Regions from separate parts of the Homo sapiens genome. Here all the other regions are linked to region 1. Evidence: promoter capture Hi-C in 16 types of primary human blood cells and fetal thymus (Javierre and others, 2016). All regions are on one chromosome and are shown on one strand. Each heading gives the region's core, a stretch centred on a gene start or on the middle of the fragment in contact. The rest is flanking DNA. Distances are from core to core; before and after follow the strand shown. Region 1 holds the start of SPATA20 (spermatogenesis associated 20). Region 2 overlaps SPAG9 (sperm associated antigen 9). Region 3 overlaps SPAG9 (sperm associated antigen 9). Region 4 has its middle 5.8 kb from the start of TOB1.

Evidence for each region. The method cuts DNA at HindIII sites, captures the fragments that hold promoters and counts their contacts. A CHiCAGO score of 5 or more calls a contact.
Region 2: a fragment that was not itself captured here is called in contact with the fragment with the promoter of SPATA20 in region 1 in 1 of 17 cell types (non-activated CD4 T cells); the score reaches 5.1 in non-activated CD4 T cells.
Region 3: a contact is called between a fragment that was not itself captured here and the fragment with the promoter of SPATA20 in region 1, in 4 of 17 cell types (total CD8 T cells, endothelial precursors, naive B cells and 1 more). The highest score is 7.8, in total CD8 T cells.
Region 4: a contact is called between a fragment that was not itself captured here and the fragment with the promoter of SPATA20 in region 1, in 1 of 17 cell types (total B cells). The highest score is 5.2, in total B cells.

The regions. Positions count from the first base shown.
Region 1 is chr17:50,545,853-50,548,423 of GRCh38, forward strand. SPATA20 (spermatogenesis associated 20) reads left to right here and starts at 1,322. Exons shown (of 17, transcript NM_022827.4): 1 at 1,322-1,433; 2 at 1,868-1,915; 3 at 2,431-2,571. The coding sequence starts at 1,357. RefSeq lists a silencer at 1,332-1,601. The HindIII fragment of the contact is 19,639 bases long and covers 1-2,571 here.
Region 2 is chr17:50,991,655-50,994,225 of GRCh38, forward strand. It overlaps SPAG9 (sperm associated antigen 9), which reads right to left. Exons shown (of 30, transcript NM_001130528.3): 19 at 2,110-2,281. Among named protein-coding and RNA genes, the nearest start is that of TOB1-AS1, 130 kb to the left of the region's middle. The HindIII fragment of the contact is 1,461 bases long and covers 543-2,003 here.
Region 3 is chr17:50,973,512-50,976,082 of GRCh38, forward strand. It overlaps SPAG9 (sperm associated antigen 9), which reads right to left. Exons shown (of 30, transcript NM_001130528.3): 28 at 1,260-1,436. Among named protein-coding and RNA genes, the nearest start is that of TOB1-AS1, 110 kb to the left of the region's middle. The HindIII fragment of the contact is 740 bases long and covers 930-1,669 here.
Region 4 is chr17:50,859,247-50,861,817 of GRCh38, forward strand. No RefSeq gene overlaps it. Among named protein-coding and RNA genes, the nearest start is that of TOB1, 5.8 kb to the right of the region's middle. The HindIII fragment of the contact is 4,656 bases long and covers 1-2,571 here.

The sequences.
Region 1 (2,571 bases), core at 72-2,571:
GGCGAAACCCCGTCTCTACTAAAAATACAAAAATTAGCTGGGCATGGTGGCGCGCTCCTGTAGTCCCAGCTACTTGGAAGGCTGAGGCACAAGAATCGCTTAAACCTAGGAGGTGGAGGTTGCAGAGAGCCAAGATCCACTGCACTCCAGCCTGGGCAACAGAGTGAGACTCTGGCTAAAAAAAAATGGGGTCGGGTATGGTGGCTCATGCCTGTAATCCCAGCACTTTGGGAGGCCAAGGCAGATGGATCACCTGAGGTCAGGAGTTCGAGACCAGCCTTGAACCCAGGATGCGGAGGTTGCAGTGAGCCGAGATCACACCACTGCACTCCAGCCTGGGTGACAGAGCGAGACTCTGTCTCAAAAAATAAAAATCCCCTTCTTACAGTTCACGAGTGTCTCCAAGATCTTGCCTCTGCCCTCATCTACTGCCTGTCTTCCCTCTTTCTGCAGTTGCTCAGCCCGGACTCACTGACAAGCCACGGGACCTTTGCACAAACTGTACCTCTGCCTCCTTCCCCAGCACTCCCCCTGAGCACCCTCCAAGTTCCTTTCTCTCGTTCTCCATGGCTTCACAAATGTGATTTCCTCAGGGAAGCCTTCATCCTTTGCCCCTTCCACCAGATCAGGTCACTTGTTACGTTATACCCTCACGGACTTGTCACGTGGGTGTTTATCGGTATGGCTGTCGAATTAGCATCTGCCGCTCTCAACAGACTGTGAGCCATGTGAGGGCAGGAGCCTTGTTTCTCTCTGCCCACCATTGTATACTCAGTGCCTTGCAGAGTGGCAGGCGGCAGGCACTTAATAAATATTGGCTGAATGTAGCCAATGAGGCCATGTGTAACCTATGAGACATAAAATGGGCTCATCAGTATTATTTAAGGAAGACTTCCTGGAGTGGGTAGGATTTGAGTAGGACCTAGAGACGAGGAGGCTGCAAAAAGCAAACCTTGTTAGCTGGTGGACCTGGCCAAGGTACGCCTTCGCCTTGGATCTCATTTCTCATTTGTAAAATGGGCAGGGGTTGGACAAAATGAGCTGAAGCTCTGGCATCCCATGTCCCTAGCATCTCCCAGCCCTAGATCCCACAACTCTCCCTATTCCCTTGAGAAGGGCTGTCCTCCCCAGGCAGGGGCAGAGCCCAGTTTTATGCACAGAATGGGTCCTCCCAAGGCTCGGGTGCCTGATCTGCAATTCTGCGCTCCGCCGCAGGGCGACGCTCGGAGACCAGCCACACTGTCCCAAGTCCCGGCGAAGACCCGCCCGCGGCTCCGTAGGTGCCCGGCCCGCCCCTCGCAGCCTCCTGACTTCCCTTCCTGTCCTCAGCGGCCGGGCCCACGGCCCCGAGCAGCCATGCTGGGCGCGCGGGCCTGGTTGGGCCGCGTCCTTCTGCTGCCCCGCGCCGGTGCAGGCCTCGCCGCGAGCCGCAGGTACGGGCGGGCGAGCGGGCCCCTAGGGCACTCCCTGCGCCTGCCTGCGGGCCCAGTGGAGGGTCTTCCGGACACCGGTCCCCAGTGCCAGTCTGGACCACCCCTGCATGCCTGGCCCTTCCCCCACCCCACCTCCGGTCTGCTCCTGAGACCTGGCTCTGGCTGTAAGGCCCTCCTCCCCTCCTCTCCCGTCCTCATCCCTTCCCTCCTCTCCCCTTCCTTCCAGTGCAGTGCCAGCTCCTCAGGGACTGTTCTGACACTGCTTCCAGGAAGCCTTCCTTGCACCCCAGTGCTGGATGCTGGGTCAAGGGCCTTTCTCCAATAGTACCCTGTGCCCTGTCACAGTCCTTTATTGCTGCATGGACCTTTCGTTATTTAGGTCTGCCTGCAGTCCCACTTCCAGGCTGAACTCCCTGAGGTCTCTGATTCCCTAGGTGTCCTGGAGTCTGGCCCAGGACCTGGCCCCACAGGAGTCCCAGCAGGTGGGCGCTGAGTGAGGGAGTCCCCATGTCTGGTTTCCTCTGTTTGTCCCTCACCTGGTCGAGTCCCAGACCCTACTGATCTTGGCCTGTCCAGCCACCAACAGTAGGCTGCCTTCCAGTGGGGCCACACCCAGGCCTGCCAGAGAGATGCCTCCAAGCAGCTGCTCCAGGAAGGGCCGGGGGAGGGGCCTGGGGAGGGGTAAGAATGGAGCCCCAAGAACCATTCTGCCCATTGTGACCCGCCCTGACCTCACAGCCATCCTTCCCACCGCCAGGCCCAGGAGGTTGGGGGAGACTAACCTGGCAAGGAGCCCCCAATGAGCCACCTCTCCTCACCCCCCAAAAAACATAAGGGGGAGCACAAAGGCCACAGTCTCCCCCATGGTTCAGAAAGGTGGGTTGGGCTGGGAGCAGGGGTCCTACTGGGGTGCTGAGTGAAATGGAGCAGGTGCTGGGGGGCCTGGGAGAAGGTGGGTGGAGGCCCCTGGCTTGCCTGATGCACCAGTCCTCGCCAGGGGTAGCTCCTCCCGGGACAAGGACCGAAGTGCGACGGTCAGTAGTTCAGTGCCCATGCCTGCTGGAGGGAAAGGAAGCCATCCTTCATCTACACCCCAGAGGGTCCCCAACCGCCTGATCCACGAGAAGTCACCATACCT
Region 2 (2,571 bases), core at 23-2,522, 450 kb after region 1:
CTCTTGTTGCCCAGGCTGGTGTGCAATGGTACAGTCTCGGCTCACTGCAACCTCTGCCTCCCAGGTTCAAGCAATTCTCCTGCCTCAGCCTCCCAAGTAGCTGCGATTACAAGCGCCTGCCACTGCACCTGGCTAATTTTTGTATTTTTAGTAGAAACGGGGTTTTACCATGTTGGCCAGGCTGGTCTCGAACTCCTGACCTCAGGTGATCCGCCCACCTCAGCCTCCCAAAGTGTCTGGATTACAGGTGTAAGCCACCATGCCAGGTCTTTTTTTTTTTTTTTTTTTTTTTTTTTTTAAAACACAGGGTCTTACTCCCATTGCCCAGGTGGGTGTGTAGTGGTGCAATCGTAGCTCACTGCAGTCTTGACCTCCCCGACTCAAGTTATCCTCCCGCCTCATTTTTTGATTTTTTGTGGAATGAGGTCTCACTATATTGCCCAGACTGGTCTCAAACTTCTGGGCTCAAGTGATCGTCCCACCTTGGCCTCTGAAAGTGCTGGGATTATGAGTGTGAACCTCCATGGCCGGCCTATTTCTAAAGCTTTTCCATCACCTCACACAGAAACTCTATGTTTTTATGAATGTGCCTATTCTAGATATCTCATATAAGCGGAATCATATAATATTTGTCCTTTTGTGTCCGACTTATTTCCTTTGGCATAGTGTTTCCAAGGTTCATCTGTGTTATAACATGTGTCAGAACTTCTACCTAGAGGATAATGTATTGTACTCTTAAAAATTTGTTAAGAGGGCTGGGCATCCCAATACTTCGGGAGGCCAAGGCAGGCAGATCACTTGAGCCCAGGAGTTCCAGACCAGCCTGGGCAACATGGTGAAACCCTGCCTACAAAAAGTACAAACAACTTAGCCAGGTGTGGTAGTGTGCGCCTGTGGTCCCAGCTACTTGGGAGGCTGAGCTGGGAGGATCACTTGAGCCCGGAAGGTCATGGCTGCAATGAGTACAATGAGTTGTGACTGCACCACTGCAATCCAGCCTGGGCAACAGAGTGAGGCCCTGTCTCAAAAAAACAAAAACAAAAATGTGTTAAGAGGGTAGATCTCAGGCTGGGTTCAGTGGCTCATGCCTGTAATCCCAGTACTTCGGGAGGACGAAGCGGGTGGATCACCTGAGGTCAGGAGTTCAAGACTAATCTGACTGCCCGGGGTGGTGGGTCACACCTGTAATCTCAGCACTTTGGGAGACCGAGGCGGGCAGATCACGAGGTCTAGGAGTTCGAGACCAACCTGGCCAATATGGTGACACCCCATTTCTACCAAAAATACAAAAATTAGCCGGGTGTAGTGGCTCGTGCCTGTAGTCCCAGCTACTTGGGAGGCTAAGGCAAAAGAATCACTTGAACCCAGGAGGTAGAGGTTGCAGTAAGCCGAGACGGTGCCACTGCACTCCAGTGTGAGTGACAGAGTAAGACTCCATCTCAAAAAAAAAAAAAAAAAAAGACTAGCCTGACCAACATGGTAAAACCCCGTCTCTAGTAAAAATGCAAACAATTAGCCGGGCGTGGTGGCAGGTGCCTGTAATTCCAGCTACTCGGGAGGCTGAGGCAGGAGAATCACTTGAACCTGGAAGGTGGAGGTTGCAGTGAGCCGAGATCATGCCATTGCACTCCAGCCTGGGTGACAGAGTAAGACTCTGTCTCAAAAAAAAAAAAAAAAAAAAAGTAGAACTCATATTAAGTATTCCACAATAAAATATAAAAAAGAACTTCATTCCTTTTTATGGCTGAATAATATTCCAACATATGGATATATCACATACACTTCTTTAATTTTTAAACTAATGTTTTAACATCACATAATGTTTAATCCAAAACTTTAGAAGACCTTTCCTTATTAATTAATCCAAACAGTCCTCTGGCTCCCAGTTATTTTCTCATATTCCCATTGTTTTATTTTCTTCACAGTATTTTTCACTACCTGAAAATATCTTCTTTATTCAATGGTTTCCAGTTTGTTTTTTAATCTTCCCTAACTAGAACATAAGCTTCATGACAGCAAGGTGCAGAACTGCATCTTCAGCTGCTACATCAGTGCCCAGCAGGTAGGTGGATGGAGGGGAGGGCAGAGAAACGCATGACTCACTCTTACCTGGCACACTTGCAATGCACAGAACATGAGAGTTGCAAACAGTGAAACTGTCTAGGATGTTGCCAGGTTGAACAGCATCAATAATAAGAACTTTTGTAGCCGAATGAGTGCTGGTACAGATCCAAACTAGACTGGATAATTCTTCTTGATTTTTTAACTCCTTCTGCTGTTCCTGTATAGGCAAAGGAGGAAAAATGTTTAAAACAATATGTATGTACAAATATTCATAAGGTGGTGCTGTTACAGTAAAAGGCAATACTATTTCAAATTTATTTCCAGATTATTTGGAAGGGTAAAAATACAACCACTGATGTGGTTTGGCTGCGTCCCTACCCAAAACTCAACTTGAATTGTATCTCCCCGAATTCCCACATGTTGTGAGAGGGACCCAGGGGGAGGTAATTTAATCATGGGGGCCAGTCTTTCCCATGCTATTCTCGTGATAGTGAATAAGTCTCACGA
Region 3 (2,571 bases), core at 50-2,549, 430 kb after region 1:
AGGGTACCATATGCCAGCCCTTGCCCCATGTACATAAAATCATTTAATCTTTGGAAGACCCTTGGGAAAATAAGTATGATGAGTAATTTGACGTGTTAGCTCGATACCCAGATATTTGGTCAAACACCAGTCTAGATATCATTGTAAGTCTTTTTTAGATGTGATTAACATTTAAAACAACAGACTTTGAGTAAAGCAGATTACACGCCACAGTGTGGGTGGGCCTCATTTAACCAGTTGAAAGCCTTAGAAGAAAAAGACTGAGGGATCCAGAGGAAAGAGAAATGTTGCCTCCAGACTGCTTTCAGATTTGGACTGCAACATCCACTCTTCCCGGGGTCTCCAGCCTGCCAGCCTGCCCTGCAGATTTCAGACCTGCTAGTCCCCACAACTGTGTGACCCAATTTCTTAACAGTAACTCTCTCTTCATACGCACATACACATGCATCCTATTGGTTCTGTTTCTCTGAAGAACCCTGACTAATATACTACATCACACAGTTAGTTGGTGGGGGAAAGTCAGATCTGAACTTCGTCTAGCTCCTAAACTTGCCTCTTATGGGAAAAAAAAATTCAAAACCTGTGTCCTGCTTACAGATGGTCAGTGACATCACTTAAGTATTGTCAATGGATAATTTGTCATTTTTCACTGGACATCATCACTTCCATCTTTTTTCTGGGTGGTGCTTTATAGCTCCCAGTAGCATTTTCATTAATTTTCATAACAAATGAAGTAGGCAGAGCAGATATTAATCACATCCACCTAGGAGTGAGGAAATGAGTCTCTGAGGTTAAGTGCCTTGCTCGAGGTTAGTGGCAGAGACACAGGGGCCAGACCCCCAGGCCTCCTAGTTCACTGCTTTTTCCTATTAAGCTGCTAAAGGTACCAGAGTGCATTCTCTCTTCCTCCATGCAGCCTTGATGATAGAAGCTTCTTTCTAGTGATTTCTCTTATTAGGTCAAGACCATTTTTGGCAATCCACGATGATAAAATAATACTACTGCTTTTCAAAAGTAAGCAAGTCTCCTAAAGAAAAATCAACAAATTTATCTTTGGGGGTGGGAGAGATATTCCAAAGTAACTTCATTCAAGTATCCCTATAGCACCTTAGTCACACCTCCATTACAGAACTTCCTTCGTATATATTGAAATTACCTGCAATTCGAGTACTTAGCCTTAGACTATTAGGTAGTGGAACCAAGAGATGACAGAAGAGAGACAATTACATGGAACATCTCAACAGAATAATCTAACATACCTGGGACTGCCACAAAGAATTTCACAGCATCCCGGTGCCCATGGAAGCAAAGCTGTGCATGTGCCATTGAACAATAGGGTATAAATGTCCCTGGAGTCACTTTATCACTGTTTTCATCACCATATACACGGATTACACTTCCAGGACGATTTCCTGGTACACCTGAGGTTTTATTTGCTGCAACAGAAAAACCAAATACCAAATATTTTCCCCTAGAAAACAGTAATGAATGTAAGAGGTTACTGGTTAATCCTTATGATATTATCTAAAAGCTACAGCCAGTTGAGATAAAACAAGGATGGCAATGCCAATTCAAGACAAAGCTGGGAAAAAAAGAGATACAGCATGCTAGTTATTTTTAAGTACCTCAGTAAATGGAGTAGGGGATTTTGCCAGTCTAGCAATAAGTAAGCTTATTTTTTAAACACATCTATTCATTTAAAAAATAATTTTAGTTAAAAAAAAAACAAATTTGAATCTTAGTTGTTTCTTGTTTTGTTTTTAATGCACATGTTAGAAAACTAACCATTATACAGTTTAAAGTAAATGGGTATATTTGCAAATAAAGTCTTTCTTTATAGTTTATCTTCTGATTTTTCTCCCTCACAGTAAGAATATTTCCCTTGAGGGGGTTGGTAAAAAGTTGTGCTTACAAGAATCCAGCCACTACAATAGAGCAGCTTTTATTGATACCAGACTGATGGTGTGCTGCGTACTGTAAAAGACCAGACTCACAAAACATCCCCATTCCATGGGCAAGTAAGTAAATGAAAGAAATATGATCGGTAACAAGAGTAAACGATGTAAATTAATGACAGCTTTAAGAGATGTTTCATGTTTATACTGGAAGGAAAACAAAGTCTGAAAGAAAGTTCAGCTGCAACAAAAGATGATAAATAGACTAAGCTGCTGAGCAGTTTGGTGGCCATGTAACAAACATTAAAAAAAAAAAAAAGACACCTGCTGCGATGCAGTGACTGCAAGTGGATAACATTTAGGAACATTCAAGAGGGTATTCTAGAGGAGTGGTAACAGCCTTACAGTGGCTATTAGAAGCCAGGAAGAAGAGTTTGGTTCAGAATCTGCACTTACCCCTCAGCCCCAGTAAACGTCCCTGGTGGAGGATTACGGCTAAAGTGAGAAAGGAGGAAAGGGGACATGGAGAGGTGCATGACAGGGAGGAGAGAATTACTGTGAGCCACCACTCTCAGCGTCTTCTATCTGGTAAACCTGGTGCTCAAAGCCCCTAACGAAAATAACAAGATCCCACTTGGCATAATACCAAGTAATACATAAAGTTCTTCCCAAGGCT
Region 4 (2,571 bases), core at 44-2,543, 310 kb after region 1:
TTAAACTCAGAGTACCTTTAGTTTCACCTTCAAAAGCTAAGTTAACTAATCACAGCATATATTGTTATCTTTAAGGAGGCATTTTGAAGAAGGCCTATATTTACATTTGCCATCTATTATAGGCGAAAAGGACATTTCACAATGTACCTGATTTCAGAAACGACAAGGCAGGGCAGAAAACGAATATACTAAACTTAGAAAGCCATTTTTTGGTATAATATTCCTTACTCATCCATGAGCTATGAAATCTGTAAGGCAACATTTTGGACACTCAGGGTATTCAGAGGCTGCTACAGTATCTGTAGTTATAGGAGTCAAAAAGATGGGAAAGGCCTGTGAAAATAACGAATTCATCAAATTGTCAACCGAAATGGTCTCCCCACAGAGAGTCAAAAGTGTGATGGCACCTTGGGGAGAAAATGACTTGGAACTAAGATGTAACCTTTTCTCAGATGTGCTAGGCAAAAGCACCTTTTAAAAAATTCCCATTCCTAATGAACAAAAAGGGCATGTAAACAGGGCCTTTGTTCATTTTTTAAAAAATTATGAAGTCCTCGCTGGATGCGTTGGCTCGCACCTGTAATCCCAGCATTTTGGGAGGCCAAAGCGGGAGGATCATGAGATCAGGCGATCGAGACCATTCTGGCCAACCCCGTCTCGTCTCTACTAAAACTATAAAAATTAGCTGGGCGTGGTGGCGCGCGTCTGTAGTCCCAGCTACTTGGGAGGTTGAGGCAGGAGAATCACTTGAACCCGACAGGCGGAGGTTGCAGGGAGCCAAGATTTCACCACTGCACTCCAGCCTGGCAACAGAGCGAGACTCTGTCTAAAAAAAAAAAAAGATGAAGTTCTCAAGGACACCAAGCTCAAGTTTTAATAAAACCAATCAAGATCACATTTTGAGTTAGTCATTCTCCGATGTCAAACATATGTACCAAGATGAAATTTCCCTAAGATTTTTGTCGATACATATATCCTTAAGATCTGAAACAGATATTCAGGCTTATGTTAACCTCAGTATTTAAAATCTGAATATATTAGTGCTTGGCTGGGTGTGGTGGCTCACGCCTGTAATCTCAGCATTTTGGGAGGCCAATGCGGGCGGATCACCTTAGTTCAGGAGTTTGAGACCAGCCCAGGCAACGTGGCGAAACCCTGCCTCTACAAAAAATACAAAAATTAGCAGGGAACGGTGGCACGCAGCTATAATCCCAGCTATTCAGGAGAGTGAGACAGGAGAATCGCTTTAGTGGAGGTTGCAGTAAGCCAAGATGGCCCCTTTGCACTCCAGCCTGGGTGACAGAGTGAGACCTTGTCTCAAAATAAAATGAATATATTAGTGCTCCAGACAGTTTCAAATTCTATTGTTGACCAGGCGCAATGGCTCATGCCTGTAATCAGAGCACTTTGGGAAGCCAAGGCAGGCAGCTCATTTGAGGCCAGGAGTTCGAGACCAGCCTGGTCAACATGGTGAAACCCCGTCTCTACTAAAAATACAAAAATTAGCCAACATGGTGGCGGGCGCCTGTAGTCTCAGCTACTCGGGAAGTTGAGGCAGGAGAATCACTTGAACCTGGGAGGTGGAAGGTTGCAGTGAGCCGAGATGGTGCCACTGCACTCCAGCCTGGGTGACAGAGCAAGAGACTCCGTCTCAAAAAAAAAAAAAATTCTATTATGTTCCGTCCAGCTGCCTTATGATTTTCAGAAAAAGCACATTACACTTGAGCCTTCATTTATAAGTAGAGTTTTCTCCCAAATGTAACTTTATCAGTCTGTAGCAGAAACTAGTGCTTAAAGCCATTATCCTGATGGTTCTTACAGCTATTCAAACTTCGTGATCACAAAAGCATGTAAGTGGTAAGTGTTGGCAGACCAGATCTCTGCTGCTTGCACCCATTATTCCAATACTTCTTCATAGCCTCGTTCTGTTCCCTAAAGAACAAAAGCCTCACCATGGAGCTGACAAACAGCTTAGCTCTGTTATTTCCAGTGCTTGTTTCCTTAAAACTTTGTATTGCTCTACACTGCATGGGTAAATGACAAAAGGCTTTTGTAGACTGGTGTCCAAAAAGCTCATGAGACCAAATTTATTTCACTGGTAACCCAGGCAGTGCTGGTTTCTTACTATAAAAGTACATATAAAGTTTTTTAAGACAGCTTTCTCACCAATACTATGTCAACACTGTATCAAATGGACGTTAACTTTCTCACCAATACTATGTCAATACTGTATCAATTGACATTTAGTGAAATGACTCATTTAGTGTTCTTCTCCCCAACTCTTCAGTTTTAAAAAACTCCATCCTCACCAAGCCACTCCAATTTGATACATTGTCAATATCTCTAAATCCTTCAAACCAGCAGGTTGGGTACCCACTTGCAAAAAATTAAATACATAAGCGTTTTTGCTGGGAAAATGAAAATGCTAACATCTAACCATCTGTCCAGCCGTGAATAGATTTTGACCATAAGTTCTCTAGCTATATGCAATAGCTAAACTTTAAAGATTAGTAAAGTGATGTAAATTTTTCTAAGTTCAGTCAGCCGTTTTGTCCAAGCAAGTTTCCTCAG